3 separate regions of the Homo sapiens genome follow, and all the other regions are linked to region 3. Evidence: promoter capture Hi-C in 16 types of primary human blood cells and fetal thymus (Javierre and others, 2016). All regions are on one chromosome and are shown on one strand. The core of a region is centred on a gene start or on the middle of the fragment in contact, and the rest is flanking DNA. Distances in the headings are between cores, read along the strand shown. Region 1 overlaps ABTB3 (ankyrin repeat and BTB domain containing 3). Region 2 overlaps ABTB3 (ankyrin repeat and BTB domain containing 3). Region 3 holds the start of CRY1 (cryptochrome circadian regulator 1).

The links. The method cuts DNA at HindIII sites, captures the fragments that hold promoters and counts their contacts. A CHiCAGO score of 5 or more calls a contact.
Region 1: a contact is called between a fragment that was not itself captured here and the fragment with the promoter of CRY1 in region 3, in 1 of 17 cell types (naive CD4 T cells). The highest score is 5.9, in naive CD4 T cells.
Region 2: a contact is called between a fragment that was not itself captured here and the fragment with the promoter of CRY1 in region 3, in 2 of 17 cell types (activated CD4 T cells and naive CD8 T cells). The highest score is 6.4, in activated CD4 T cells.

The regions. Positions count from the first base shown.
Region 1 is chr12:107,577,607-107,581,752 of GRCh38, forward strand. It overlaps ABTB3 (ankyrin repeat and BTB domain containing 3), which reads left to right. Exons shown (of 17, transcript NM_001018072.2): 4 at 3,546-3,698. Among named protein-coding and RNA genes, the nearest start is that of PWP1, 110 kb to the right of the region's middle. The HindIII fragment of the contact is 2,483 bases long and covers 329-2,811 here.
Region 2 is chr12:107,405,184-107,409,279 of GRCh38, forward strand. The region is part of intron 1 of ABTB3 (ankyrin repeat and BTB domain containing 3); the gene reads left to right. Among named protein-coding and RNA genes, the nearest start is that of ABTB3, 89 kb to the left of the region's middle. The HindIII fragment of the contact is 7,157 bases long and covers 1-4,096 here.
Region 3 is chr12:107,091,125-107,095,445 of GRCh38, forward strand. It overlaps CRY1 (cryptochrome circadian regulator 1), which reads right to left and starts at 2,425. Exons shown (of 13, transcript NM_004075.5): 1 at 1,680-2,425. The coding sequence starts at 1,837. RefSeq lists silencers at 2,257-2,486, 2,817-2,896 and an enhancer at 2,567-2,716. The HindIII fragment of the contact is 9,786 bases long and covers 1-4,321 here.

The sequences.
Region 1 (4,146 bases), core at 320-2,819, 490 kb after region 3:
TCTCTTTCCTTCCAGAGCCTCTAGTCGCACCCTATATACCTCTCCTAACACCACAGTGAAGATGTAGATGGCCACTGTCCTGTTTGAGTGGACCATCTCCCTCCTCTGCTCATCTCAGGCCACGTGGTTGGGGATTAACAAACCTGGCTTGCTGCAGAATTTCCAGGGGAGCTTATTTAAAATGCAGATGCCCAGGCCCTACCCCAAGACTTATGGGAGCCAAACTCTGGATGTAAAATCATGGCTGTTGCCATTTTAACAAGTTCTTCATGTGCTTCTGATGTTCAACAAAGTCTAAGAACCACTTCACTAAACCATGAGCTCCTCAAGCTTCTTTTGGGTTTTAGTCACTTCAAACAACTTCAGAATAAAGGAGACAACCAGTGGAACATTGTTCTCTTAAAAAAAAAAAGTATAAAGAGAATGCAAGATTTTTTCTTCAGCATTCTCCACCCTCTCCTTGACTCAGAGCCCTCGAATTCTTTCCCATCTCCAATTCCTCCAAAGAAAACATACAAATAATGCTATTTTTTCCCCTCTGAGTAGACAAGATAAGAAGATTTTTAAATGAGTTACTGGCAAAGAATTCATGAGCTTATATACTATTAAGGTCAGAGTGACAAGAAGAAGGCAATGTTGAAAGGAGAGAATAGGTACATAGAAAATTCCAGGAGAGGCTGGAATCCTGAGGTTCAAGGTGTCTTATTCTGGAGCTTGCCAGCTGTCTTGGTAAAGGTGTTATTTTTGAAGGCAGCAGAGCCTTTTTCTTTCTTCTTCTTTTTTTTTTTTTTTTTTTTTTTTTTTTTTTGCTATTCTTTGGCATTCACCAGGCATTGGCCGTGTGCCCTGGGCCTCGCTTGGCATCTAACATGAAAGGCAGCAGCCCAAGGGCAGTTCTGTGATGGAGATGCAGCCCCCCAGGGACTCAGGGTTGTGGACTGTGCTCTGGGGCCACTGAGCAAAGGAATGATGAGGGGAGGCGCCTCTGAAACTTAACCCAGAGAGTTCTCTGAGCATTTGGGGCTGGTTTCCAACAATAATGGAGACACTGTGACAAAAATAAGTTCTGCTCACCTGAGACAGTAGAATCCAATTCAATTTCAAGTCAGCGTGTGTTTATTGAGTGCCTGATTCAGTTTAGGTGATGGAGAGAATGGGAGAATGAGGGAGACAGCCTAAGAAGCAGGCTGATTCAGGCAGAAAATCCTTGGGACTCTGCCCCACAGATAGGTCCACAGGTCCAGAAACTCAATTTTATCAGTTTCACCCAGTAAGAAATTGGTAAATCTTAGTCTGTGTCATGAGCAAATATTTATTAAGTGCCTACAGTGTGCCAGGCACCATCCTGGAGCTGCGGCGGGAGCCGTGATCCAAGAAGTCCCCATTCCCTGCCCTGGTGGAGTTTACATTCTAATGGGGCATTTGCAGAGGCAGCGGGTAAGGCCAGAGGAGTCCTCTGGGGTGAGGCCCACAATGCGAGGGATTCAAGTGAGGTAAAGTCAGGAGGAACGTCTAGGGAGAAATGGGATTTAGCCTGTGGTTTGAAGGTTAAGAGGGATGTGGATTTTTAAAGGGCTTGAAGCCTTACAGACAGGAGGCTCAGCTGCATGAACAGGAATCAGCCCATTGCATGCCAGCAAGAGTCCATGACCTGATCAGCTCCCCTGGGGTGACAGGTGCATGCTGGGTAACAGAGTGCATGCTACGAAGTTGGACAAGAGAATGTCAATATCACATGGGGTTTCTCTACACATGCTATATAGTCAAGTAACTTGGGTCTGACTCCCAGCTCTTGCTAGTCTTGTGGTCCAGGGCATGATACCTAACCTGGATCAACATCATTCTCCTGATCAATGAAATGGGCATAATCATAACTAGCACAGAGGTTGGTCCTAGGCATTCAGATGAGACCATGAATCAATGTAAATGGCTGAGCTGCTGAATATTATTAACATTGGATAAATAGATCTGACTATAGGAAAACTGGCACCTGCCACCAAAAACTTTCTGGGAAGCTCATGACATCTGCATTTCTCAAGGGGGCTGGCTGACTTATAACCCCATCTACCTGTCATCCTCTTCTCAATGCCATGGTGGCCATGCTGGACTGAATGGCAGCCCCAGGGCCGGGGGAGGCAAGAGACATGCCAAGAACATATTTGCATGACCTAGCCTCCTTCAGTTTTGCACCCAGGGAACCCCACTGGCTTCATGCTAGTCTGACCCCTGCTGAATGGCAGGAAACCTTTTGCATCTACGTAGTGCATTTCTCAAAGTGTGGTACTTGGCCCACCTAAATCAGAATCCCAGGGGCTGCCTATCAGAATTATCTTCTTGGACTCTAACACAATCACCATCTCTGGATATAGAGCCAGATGATTCCCAGGCCCTCTCATGATGACTTTAGAGCAGAGGTTCTTTGAGAATGTCGTCCGCAGACCAGTAGCATCCGTATCAGGAACTGGTTAGGAATGCATTTCCTGGGTACCTCCCCTGATCTATGGAATCAGAAACTCTGGGAATGAGACCCAGCAGTCCGTATTTTAACAAACCCTCCAGATAATTCTGATGCACATTAAATTCACATGGGGAGGTTTTGAAAACTGCCTGTATCCAGCTGCACCCTATACCAATTAAATCAGAATCCCTGGGACAGGACTCAAGTGTCATTATTTTTTCCAAAATCTTCTCCAGTAATCCTAATGTGAGGACAGAGTTTATCATCACTGGAAGAAATAGGAAGATGGCACAAATGCGTTGCACTTAGAAAGTTGCCCTTCAGTTGTAGGCATTGTCTCAATGCGTGCAACAAGCTTGCAACAGCCTACCATGATCCCATTAGCAGGCAGGGAACTTGAGGCTCTCAGAGTTTCAGGGGTGTGACCAAGGTCCAAAGGGCCTCGAATTGTGGGCGCCACTGGGTGGCTGCCCAGCCAGCCTGGGTCTGGGGGAAGGCTGCCGGTTAACCTGGCTCTCTTTAGAGAGCCTTTTCTAGGTGCCAAAGCCTTTTGGCAGCATGTTGCCTGGGCAGAGCTGAAGCCTGAAAGAGCTCCAGAAAGACGACAGGGACGAGGCTGCAGATGGGAAGGGAGTGCTAGCGGACACCTTAGGCTTGGGTCCACAATCAGGGAGCCCCAAATAGAAATAACACGGGGCGCTGATTGGTTTTCCGCCGCTCCAGACCCTGCGCTTGGTGCTTCAAGTGACTCATCCTTATGTTCACATGATCGCCGAGAGGGATAATATTCCCAGATCAGTTACCTCCTAGCCTTTCCTAGTCACATTATCCCCAGGCTACAGATGAGGAAACTGAGGCCCAAGGATTCCAGAGAGCCTGCCCCGGGGTCACCGGTGCGGTCCGGATGTCTCCAAAGGCTCTCCCACTACTCTGGAATTCAGAGGCAGGGTCTCCAGGGAAAGCGGGGTGTGGGCTGGGGAGTCGGGAGATGGGGGGATCCCCGCGAGCAGGGGGTGGGGCCAAGCCGGCAGCCCCTGCCTCCGGGGAGGCCCTAACGCGCGTCTCCGGGTCCCTCCTCCCACCGCAGGCCCTTCCTCGTGCTGCCGCCGCTGATGGAGTGGATCCGGGTGGCCGTGGCGCACGCCGGCCACCGCCGCAGCTTCTCCATGGACAGCGACGACGTCCGCCAGGCGGCCCGGCTGCTGCTGCCCGGCGTGGACTGCGAGCCGCGCCAGCTCAGGTAGGCGCGGGGGCGGGCGGGGGGCGGCAGGGGAGGGAGGGCTCCGGCCTCGCAGCCTCCACCCCTCCAATCAGAGCCCCGCTGGGCGGCCTGAGCCCCGCACACCTCGGCGGCGCTGGGGTGGAGGCTCCCTGGTTGAAGTGGCAGACGCGGGCTGAACAATAAGCAGGTCCCTGGAGTTGCAGGGTTGAAAGAACGCGGCGAGGCCCGTGGAGGACGGTCCGATTCTTAGATTACAGATGTCGGTGTGGTTTCTCTCTGGCTGTTCTCTCTGCGCCTAGCTTCTCCCTCTCTTTCTCTCTCCTCCCCCAGTAAAATCCGGTCTTCCTGTAGTTTTTTAACCAAACCTTACAGAGTGAAATTTCTGGCTGGGTCAGAGAGCGCCTCTGCGTTTTCACTTGCGTGAGGATGGAGTGGTCTTCTCTGCATTCCTCAGGCCTGTATCCAG
Region 2 (4,096 bases), core at 769-3,268, 310 kb after region 3:
GCTCTAGAGGGCACTAGTCACTGTGAAGGCTATGTGAATGGCGCCCTCTAGAATTAAGCAGGGCATAAACTGCACAACCAAAACGGTGGCCGGGCCACTGTGAGTGCTGTTAATGGTTATGTTTATCACTTAGAGCAGTGTTACCTTGGCTCTTCAATTGAGTTCCCATATCCATTAAATAGCAACCTATCAGGGTCATGGTAAGGATCCAAGAGTCTGTCATTAAATGGTCAAATGGTCACTGTTTTTACTGACTTATATTCTACTTTAGATCAATACCCACATCTCCTTTCTATAGCTTCATCCTTACTGAAGGCACCACTCTCCGAGCAGTGGGGCAGGCAAGGGATCAGAGCTGGCACGGCTGTCCGGGGTTGTCCTGTCTGCCAAGCAATGGCAGGAGAGCTGCGAATGGCAGACACTTGGAAATCCTCAAGTCTGGGCTGGAGCCCTGGCAGCAGGCATCTGATCTGCCAGCTTATGCTGGGAAGAGAAGCCGGTCCCTGGGGGGGCTGTGCTGAAAACAGACACATGGCCTGGCATGGCCACCAGCCAAAGAAGTCTTCCTGCCCAGGATTGGTGCAATTGGCCTCTTCTCTTTCCTGTCCTCCTAGGGCCCATCGTCTGCATGAAAGAGGGATTGAGCCAGGCGATTGGAGACCTGAGTGGAGGTCCCCACTCTGCTCCTCACCAGCTCCATCTTGGGTATCATGCTTCTACTCTGTGTCCTCAGTTTTCCCATCTGTAAACGAAGGCATTGGACCAGATTACCTTGGAAAGCCTGTACTTTCTCCCCTCTAGTTTGTTTGAGGGGCAGCTTAGGGTTGTGGTTACGTGGGAGCTGAGTTGTACTCCTGGGTTCTAGTTCTGGCTTTGCCACTTCTCTTAGCTGGGGCATAAGTCACTTAACCTGCCTGGGTATCACTTTCCTCATCTGTAAAACAGGCTGGGCACACGGTTGTGATAGTACCTGTCCCATGGGGTTGTTGCAAAGATTATGGCTTCACATACGAAGTGCTTAGAACAGTGCCTGGCACCAGAAGCACCCCATAAATGGAGCTGGCTACTTCCTAGCCTGCTCCTTAAAGATGTCCCAGTCAGCCAGGTATGAAAGCATGCGCCTGTAGTCCCAGCTATTTGGGAGGCTGAGATGGGAGGATCGCTTGAGCCTAGGAGTTTGAGACTGTAGTGAGCTATGATCACACCACTATATTCCAGCCTGAGCCACAGAGTGAAACCCTGTCTCTCTTAAAACAAATAAAAACCAATGATGCTCTACTTTTTCTGCTTAAAGAGTTAGTCCCACCATCCCAGGACTCGGAGTCTGGTTGCTGTTGAGCCCAGGAACCTCACCATGCATGCTCCTCAAGTGAGCTCAGAGCATGAGATGGTCTCAACTAACCCATAGCCAATATTCACGGAGCATTTCTTCATTTACTCTTTCAGTCTATTTAAAGAGCACCTGCTCAGGTACTGTTGTAGGCTCTGGGGATAAGACAGTGACCAAAACAGGCAGAAATCCCTGTCTTTATGGAGCTTACAATCTAGCAGGGAGAAGCCAGACATTAAATAAATAAAACGCAAAATATAAACATGGATCTCCAGATGTTGCTTTGAAAAAAAACAAAGGAGATTTTCTGATTCTTACCATCCTTATCCCTGGTTGTGACTCACTGGTGTATAAAGCCTAAACTCCCCCAGCCTCAGCTCACACTGTGTTCCTCTAGGTGTCCCCTGAGCTTGGGCTCCGGAGCCAGAGAAGCCTGCGCTTTGAGTCCCGACTCTACCCCTGCAATTTGGCTGCTTTTGACCTTGGGGAAGCCACTTAATCTTTCCCTTCCTATTTCCTCATCTTTAAAATACCATTGCCCCCATCCCAGGACTGTCATGAGGATTCAGTGAGTTAATACACATAAAGCACTTACAACAGTGCTTGCCCCTGTATGACCTCGGGCAAGTCACTCTGAGCCTCAGTTTGCTCATCTGTAAAATGGGCATAAAATAGTCCCCAGCTCACCAGGGTTTGGCAGGCTTCAATGTAATAATGCATGTAAAATACCTGGCACAGTGCTTAGCACACAGTGGATGCTGTTTCTCCTCTCCTGTATTTTTGCTGCACGACAAATCACTCTGAAACTCAGTGACTAAAAGCAACAACTATTTATAATTGCTTACATATCTGTGGGTCAGGTGAGGCAGCTGAAATATTCCAGGCTCAGCTGGGCCACTGTATTTCAAGCTACAGATCCAAGAAGGCTTGGCCCCTTGCTGAGGTTTGGGCTCAGATCTGCTCCACGTGTGTCCAGCAGCTACCAGGGGACACGCTTCTCATGGCGCTGCAGAAGTGCAAGACGGTGAACAGGCAAGGCCTCGTCAGCCTTGAGCTGGGGCAGGTGCCTTCATTTCTGCCTCATTCTGTTGGTAATCAGAAAAGCAATCAAATGGTCAAACTCCAAGTCAAAGGATAGAGAAATAGTTCCCCTTTAGTGGAAAGAACTGCAAAGTCATATGGCAAGAGGCATGAGTGAAGCCAGGGCTGAAGAGTTGGGAACATTAATAGGATCTATTGGGCCTCCTGAGAACCCCCAGAAGATCATTGTAAGCAGCTGGTGATGGCGGCGACTCAGGGAGGTCCTGCGTATTTTCAGCTCTACCAGCTCTCCTAGGATTGCTGTTCCAGATTTCTCCCATCTATGCCTGGGGATATCGTATGGGATTTTCCTCCCAGGAACGTTGTACAGTGATGGAGGATGGGTGCAGGAAGGCTGGACTGCAAAGTCCTGGAATGCTTCCCCCCAACCCCCAACCTCCACGTCAAACCTGTCGTTGCAACGAAATAAATAAAACTGACAGCTGGAAAAATGAGGGGCAAGCAGACCAAATATGATAAACGGTCTCTTGCCGTGTATTGTATTCTCTACAATAAAACCCCAAGCAGATGCTAAAAATGTGTGCGGCTTTGTGAGGAGATAGGCGTGCTCTGTGTGGCCGAGATTTTCTGAGAAAGGTAATTTAACTGCAATGCACATAAAGGAGAGAAAGGCAGAGAAGTAATTTGGAAAGTGTACATCAAGTGCTTTTTAAAAAGTTGATATTGTTGGTTATTTTTCTTTTATTAAAATCCACAGCCCTGTGGGCTGCTGTCCCATCCTTATCGGGCTCATTCAAGACCAGCATTGACATTTCTAATTTGCAAATTTAAAGATTGTCAGGAAATGGTTTAAACACCCAGTATGATTGGGGAGCTTTTTGACTGTGGGTGACAAGAGTGGGCTCACCTCTGGGAAGACAGTAGGGGCAGGGGAGGAGAGCTGGGCTAGATTTAGGGAGAGTTAGGAATAGCTAACATTTATTAAGCACTTAGTATCAGATACTCTTCTAAGTGTTTTACACATATATTTTATTTTGTCTTACATAAATCTGTGATTTCCATTGTACAGATGAGTGTAATGAGGGTCTGGAAGCTCCTAAGCAGCAAAGCTAGCCTTGGAACCCGGCACTGGACTTCGGTATCTTGAGACCACCCCTGGCTTCCCTGCCTCGGGGAAAGAGCGTGAGGCTCAGAGTCAGGCAGTCTGGGGTTCAAATCCTAGCTCTGTCAGTTACTCTGGCCTCGGTGACTTTTTATTCATCCATCTGTTCAGCAAGTGTTAACTGAGATTGAACCTTGCACCAGATGCTGTGCTGGGTGCCAGGGGCACAGTGGTGAGCAAGACCCAGGATCCTGTTCTCATGGGCTTTTAGCCCACCCCTCCAAAAAGTACAGAGCTGCCAGAAAGGAACATAATGCCCTAAGGGCATATGACTAGGGAAACTGTGGGTCTTGGGAAGGCTTCCCCCAGAAAGGGACTTCTGAGTGGATCTTTAAAGGAAGAGTCAGCTAAGCTATATTTCTCCCTCTCCGTCCCCCTCACCTTCCCTCTCTTCTGTCTCTCTGTGTCTCTGTTTCTCTCCGTCTCTCTTTCTGGAAACTCTTACACCTGGACCCAGCTGTCATGCTGTGAGAGAGCCCAGGCCCCATGGAAGGGCCATGTGAAGATGTTGTGGCCAACAGCCCCAGTCAGAACCAGCTATGTAGTTTGCAGGCTCCAGTGCA
Region 3 (4,321 bases), core at 1,175-3,674:
CGTCTCCTAGGTTCATGCGATTCTCGTGCCTCAGCCTCCTGAGTGGCTGAGATAACAGGCATGCGCCACCATGCTCACCTAATTTTTATATTTTCAGTATTAATAGAGACAGGGTTTTGCCACGATGGCCAGGCTGGTCTCGAACTCCTGGCCTCAGCCTCCCAAAGTGCTGGGATTACAGGGATGAGCCACCGCGCCCAGCCTAACTCCTTTTCTTTCTCTCTCACTACATATCCAATCTGCCAACAAATACCCTGTATTTTGCCTTCAGAATATAACCAGCATCTGTTTATTTCTCACCACGTCCACGATTATTACTATGATTCAAGCCGTTATCATCTCTCACCTGGATGAATGCCAACAGCTTCTTAATTGGACTTCCTGCTTCTTGTCCACCTCCACTCCCCAATTCAGAACCACAAGCAGAAAAATTCTTTTCCAAACTTATGTCAGATCACATTACTTCTCTGCTCATAATCCTGCAGTTATTCCCATTTCACTAAGTAAAAACCCAAATCTTGAAAACTGCTTATAAGGCTCTCTTCAATCTGGCCCTAAGTCAACTCTGACCTCATCGTCTACTATTTTTCCCTCACTTATTCTGCTCCAGACATACTGGATTCTTCTGCTGTTCCTTCCAAAGGTCAAGCATATTTCTGCCTTTTCCCTTACTCTTCCCTTTGCCTGGAATGGTCTTCCCTTAGATATCTGCATCCCACCACCTCCTTCAGGTCTGCTCAAGTGTCACCTTCTCTGTGACTTTTCCCCCGATCATACTTAAAATTGCAACCCCATCCCTACCCTTGTATTCTTTATCCCTTTACTCTGCTCTATTTTTTTCCACAATACTTATCACCACCTAAAATACTACATATTTTACTTTCTGCTTGAAGACATGACTTTCTGTCTTTCACTCACTGCTATATCCCTAGCATTTAAATCAGTGCCTGGCACATGCTAAGTGATCAAGAGTCTATCTGTTGAGCTATGCTTTTATTTCCACCAGGGGGCCTAACAATCATGTAGCCTGGTGTTTCAGGAAAAGATCATAAAGCATCTCTAAGATTTCTTTCAGTGCTCTGATCCCTAGAAGGACTACAACTTGCCTAGAAAGAAAAACTGTGCTTTGTCTCGGCAACCACAAGGAGGAGTTGAGAAAAAGAACCGAGCAGAGAAACCAGATAATGCTGTTTCCCTTGCTTTTCCCACAGTAACCTCAAGGTGGAAGAACACTGGATCTGGAGCCTGCTGTACTGAATGAATGATTTTTCTCCATACTATGAGTTACCTAGACACAAACGTAAACAGGAAACATCACAATCCTTCCGAATGCCACAAAAAGGCCAAGGGAATCCATATACAATGGCCACTAAGGACAGGAAAGGTGTTTCTTTAACTCCAGCACTAAGAATTCTCCACAAATTCAGGGGAGGAGCTCCAGTTAGCACAGAAAGACACATAACTCACTGATGAAGACCGAGTGTTTCAGGTCGTCAGTACTCTTTGGCCAGAGAAGTATTAAGTCAATTCTATTTAATACTTAGGGCACCTAAAATTCGTAAGCGGTATAAGCAAGACAGTCCCACGTCTAAATTCACAGATTTGGCGGATCGCATGGAATTCATTAACATCAGACTCATTAAACACCCAAATCCATTTCCCACGGGCTTGTGACTCACCGCCACCTGTTGATGCCCACATTGGAGGAGCCGGCGAACCAGGGGTCCAGGATGTAGACGCAGCGGATGGTGTCGGCGCCCTGAATGCACTCCTTCAGGGCGGGGTTGTCGTGGAGCCGGAGCCCCTTTCGGAACCAGTGCACGGCGTTCACCCCCATGCCGGGGGGCGCGGCGGGTCCTCCACGGAGAAATTCAAGGAAGGAGGCTCCGGCTCATAGCCGACACCTTCGCTTCCAAGAGAATTGCCTCACCCGGGGCGTGAGGAAAGGGCGGCAGAGGGGGAACAGGAAAAAATGACTCCGAGGAGGGGACCGGAGAAGGCGGGGGCGCCGGAGGCGCAGTGGAAAGATGAATGGAGGTTGCCTAGTCGGCGGAGTCCGGGTGTGACGCCCTTTAGGAGCCCGCGCCCGCCGCAACCGCCTGGAGGCGACGCATAACTTCGAGGGCCTCGGACCTCCGGAGCCTGAGCAAGTTCCAGGAGCTCGAGCCGCCACGACGGCCCGAGCCGGCACGGACGGCCCCAGGAGATTCGTCACGGAAACCTCGCCCCACCAAGGCGGCCCCTAAAGACAAAACGGCCCGCCCGAGGTGAGTCACCGAGGAGAACCGGAGGGGAATGAGCCCCTGTCGGCGACGCTGTCTCTCGGCCCGGGAGAAAGGACCGGGAACGGAGGCTAGAGGCGGTGGTCGAGGCCGCTGGACGGTTGCCGGCCGGTGACCGGTCCCGAGGCTGCCCGGGTGACTCTGCCGCCGCCGCCGCGTCAGCGGCCTCGGCCCCGCCCCCGGCTCCTCATTGGAGGGCGCGCTCCCCTCGTGACCACCGGCACCTCACGTTTCTGAAGTGTGTTTACTACACTGGCTCGGAGGGGTAATCTGCTCGCGCTTCGGTCGCTTTTGGAGGAGCGGCAGCCGCTTGATCCCAAACTTGTTGACCCTCGTCCACACGCTGAACTCACTGCCTCTGCCCCTTTCCTGTGCCGACTGGTGGCCGTCCCTTGGAAGCAAATCGCGTTGACCACAGGCCCCTTGTGAGGGAAGGCTTAGCCCCGCCCCCAAGGGCCATGAGCGGCCACCATTGGCCGAGGCTCGCTGAGACCCGGATGAGCACGGGGATGCGGGGAGCTTGCGGGCGCGCGCGCTGCTCCGTTAGGCGCGCGTGCGCTCTCGCTGCGTTCCAGAGGGTAAGGGGGCGGGGCCGGCGGGCAGGAGCGCGCTCGGCGATTCCTCCCGTGGGATTTGGGGAGGGCCTGGAAATTGTCCGGTTTCCTTCAGGAGCCAGTGGTGGAGTCGGGCGGAGAGTGAGGGGAGGATGGAGTGGAAGGAGGAGAGTGGGAGGCTCCACGTACATTTCAAGTCCAAACCATGTGCTTCAATCCTGCTTTGGCCAGAGAACCCTACTTTGGAGATTGTGGAGCTGTGCCCCTCCACTCTCCTGGCCCTTGGGTGCCTCCTCCCCCTTGTACATACTCTGGGGAAAAGGGTAATTGGCAGGACGGATGCCAGGCATTCCTGGACTTCCTGGAATTTTTTTAATACTAGCGATATATATCATCAACCTTTCACCCCTCGTCTCTTACATTTAATGTAGTTTACCGGTCTCTTTGAAACTGGACGTTTGTCTACTTTTCCAGCGACAGTGAACTGCAGGCCATGGCATCCCTTAGATATATGATGCCCTTAAATTCATTCAATGATTACTTTTTGAATGAACTAGGCACTGTTCAAAGCACTAGAGATACAGGAGATACTTAATAAAACAGACTAAAACCCCACCCCTCCTGGGGTTTACAATTTGTCTCTTAACCTTTGCTGTTTTTTCCTCTATAAAATACTCTTCTTTGGAATCCAGTACTCAATATTACCACCTTTGAGCTACCTAGGATATTTCTACGCATCCCTTTAGACTCAGATGAAATAATAACTAATTTCTGAAAGTATTCCTGATCCCTAGGGCAAATTTAGGACCTCCCTGGGTTCTCCAAGTATGTTTCTGTTACATCACTTTTCACACTACCGTGAAAATTAGTTGAAAAGTGCCCATTCCTAGCAATACCAACTCAGTAATAGTACTTATTATCATAATAATGTGCCTCTGATTCCCTCTGAAGTGTGATTTCTCAAGGACTGGGTCTGTATTCAGTTTTCTTTTGTTTTTATTTTTTGCATCAACACCAGAACAGAGCCTGACATAGGCAAATGCTTATTTAATGAATGAATGAGTGAGTGAGTGAGTGCTGTTGGCCACCAGTGTGTTTGGCAAAGTTAAAAGAAAGAAGGAGATGGCAATTCTTATTGGTTGAATTGTGTGTCCCCAAAATCATATAACTCTCAATGACTATAAATGTGGCCTTATTTGGAAATAAGGTCTTTGTACATGCTCAAGTTAAGATGAGGTCATTAGGGTGCACCCTAATCCAGTGTGATTGGTGGCCTCATATAGTGGAGAAATTTAGACACAGAAATACATATACATACAGGGAAAATACCATGTAAAGATTGGAACTGTGCTGCCACAAGCCAAGGAACTACTGGAAGCTAGGAGAAAGACCTGGAACAGATCCTTTCTTAGCACCTTCACAGGACTGTCGCACTGCTGACACCTTGATTTTGAACTTCTGGCCTCTAGAACTGCGAGACAGTTA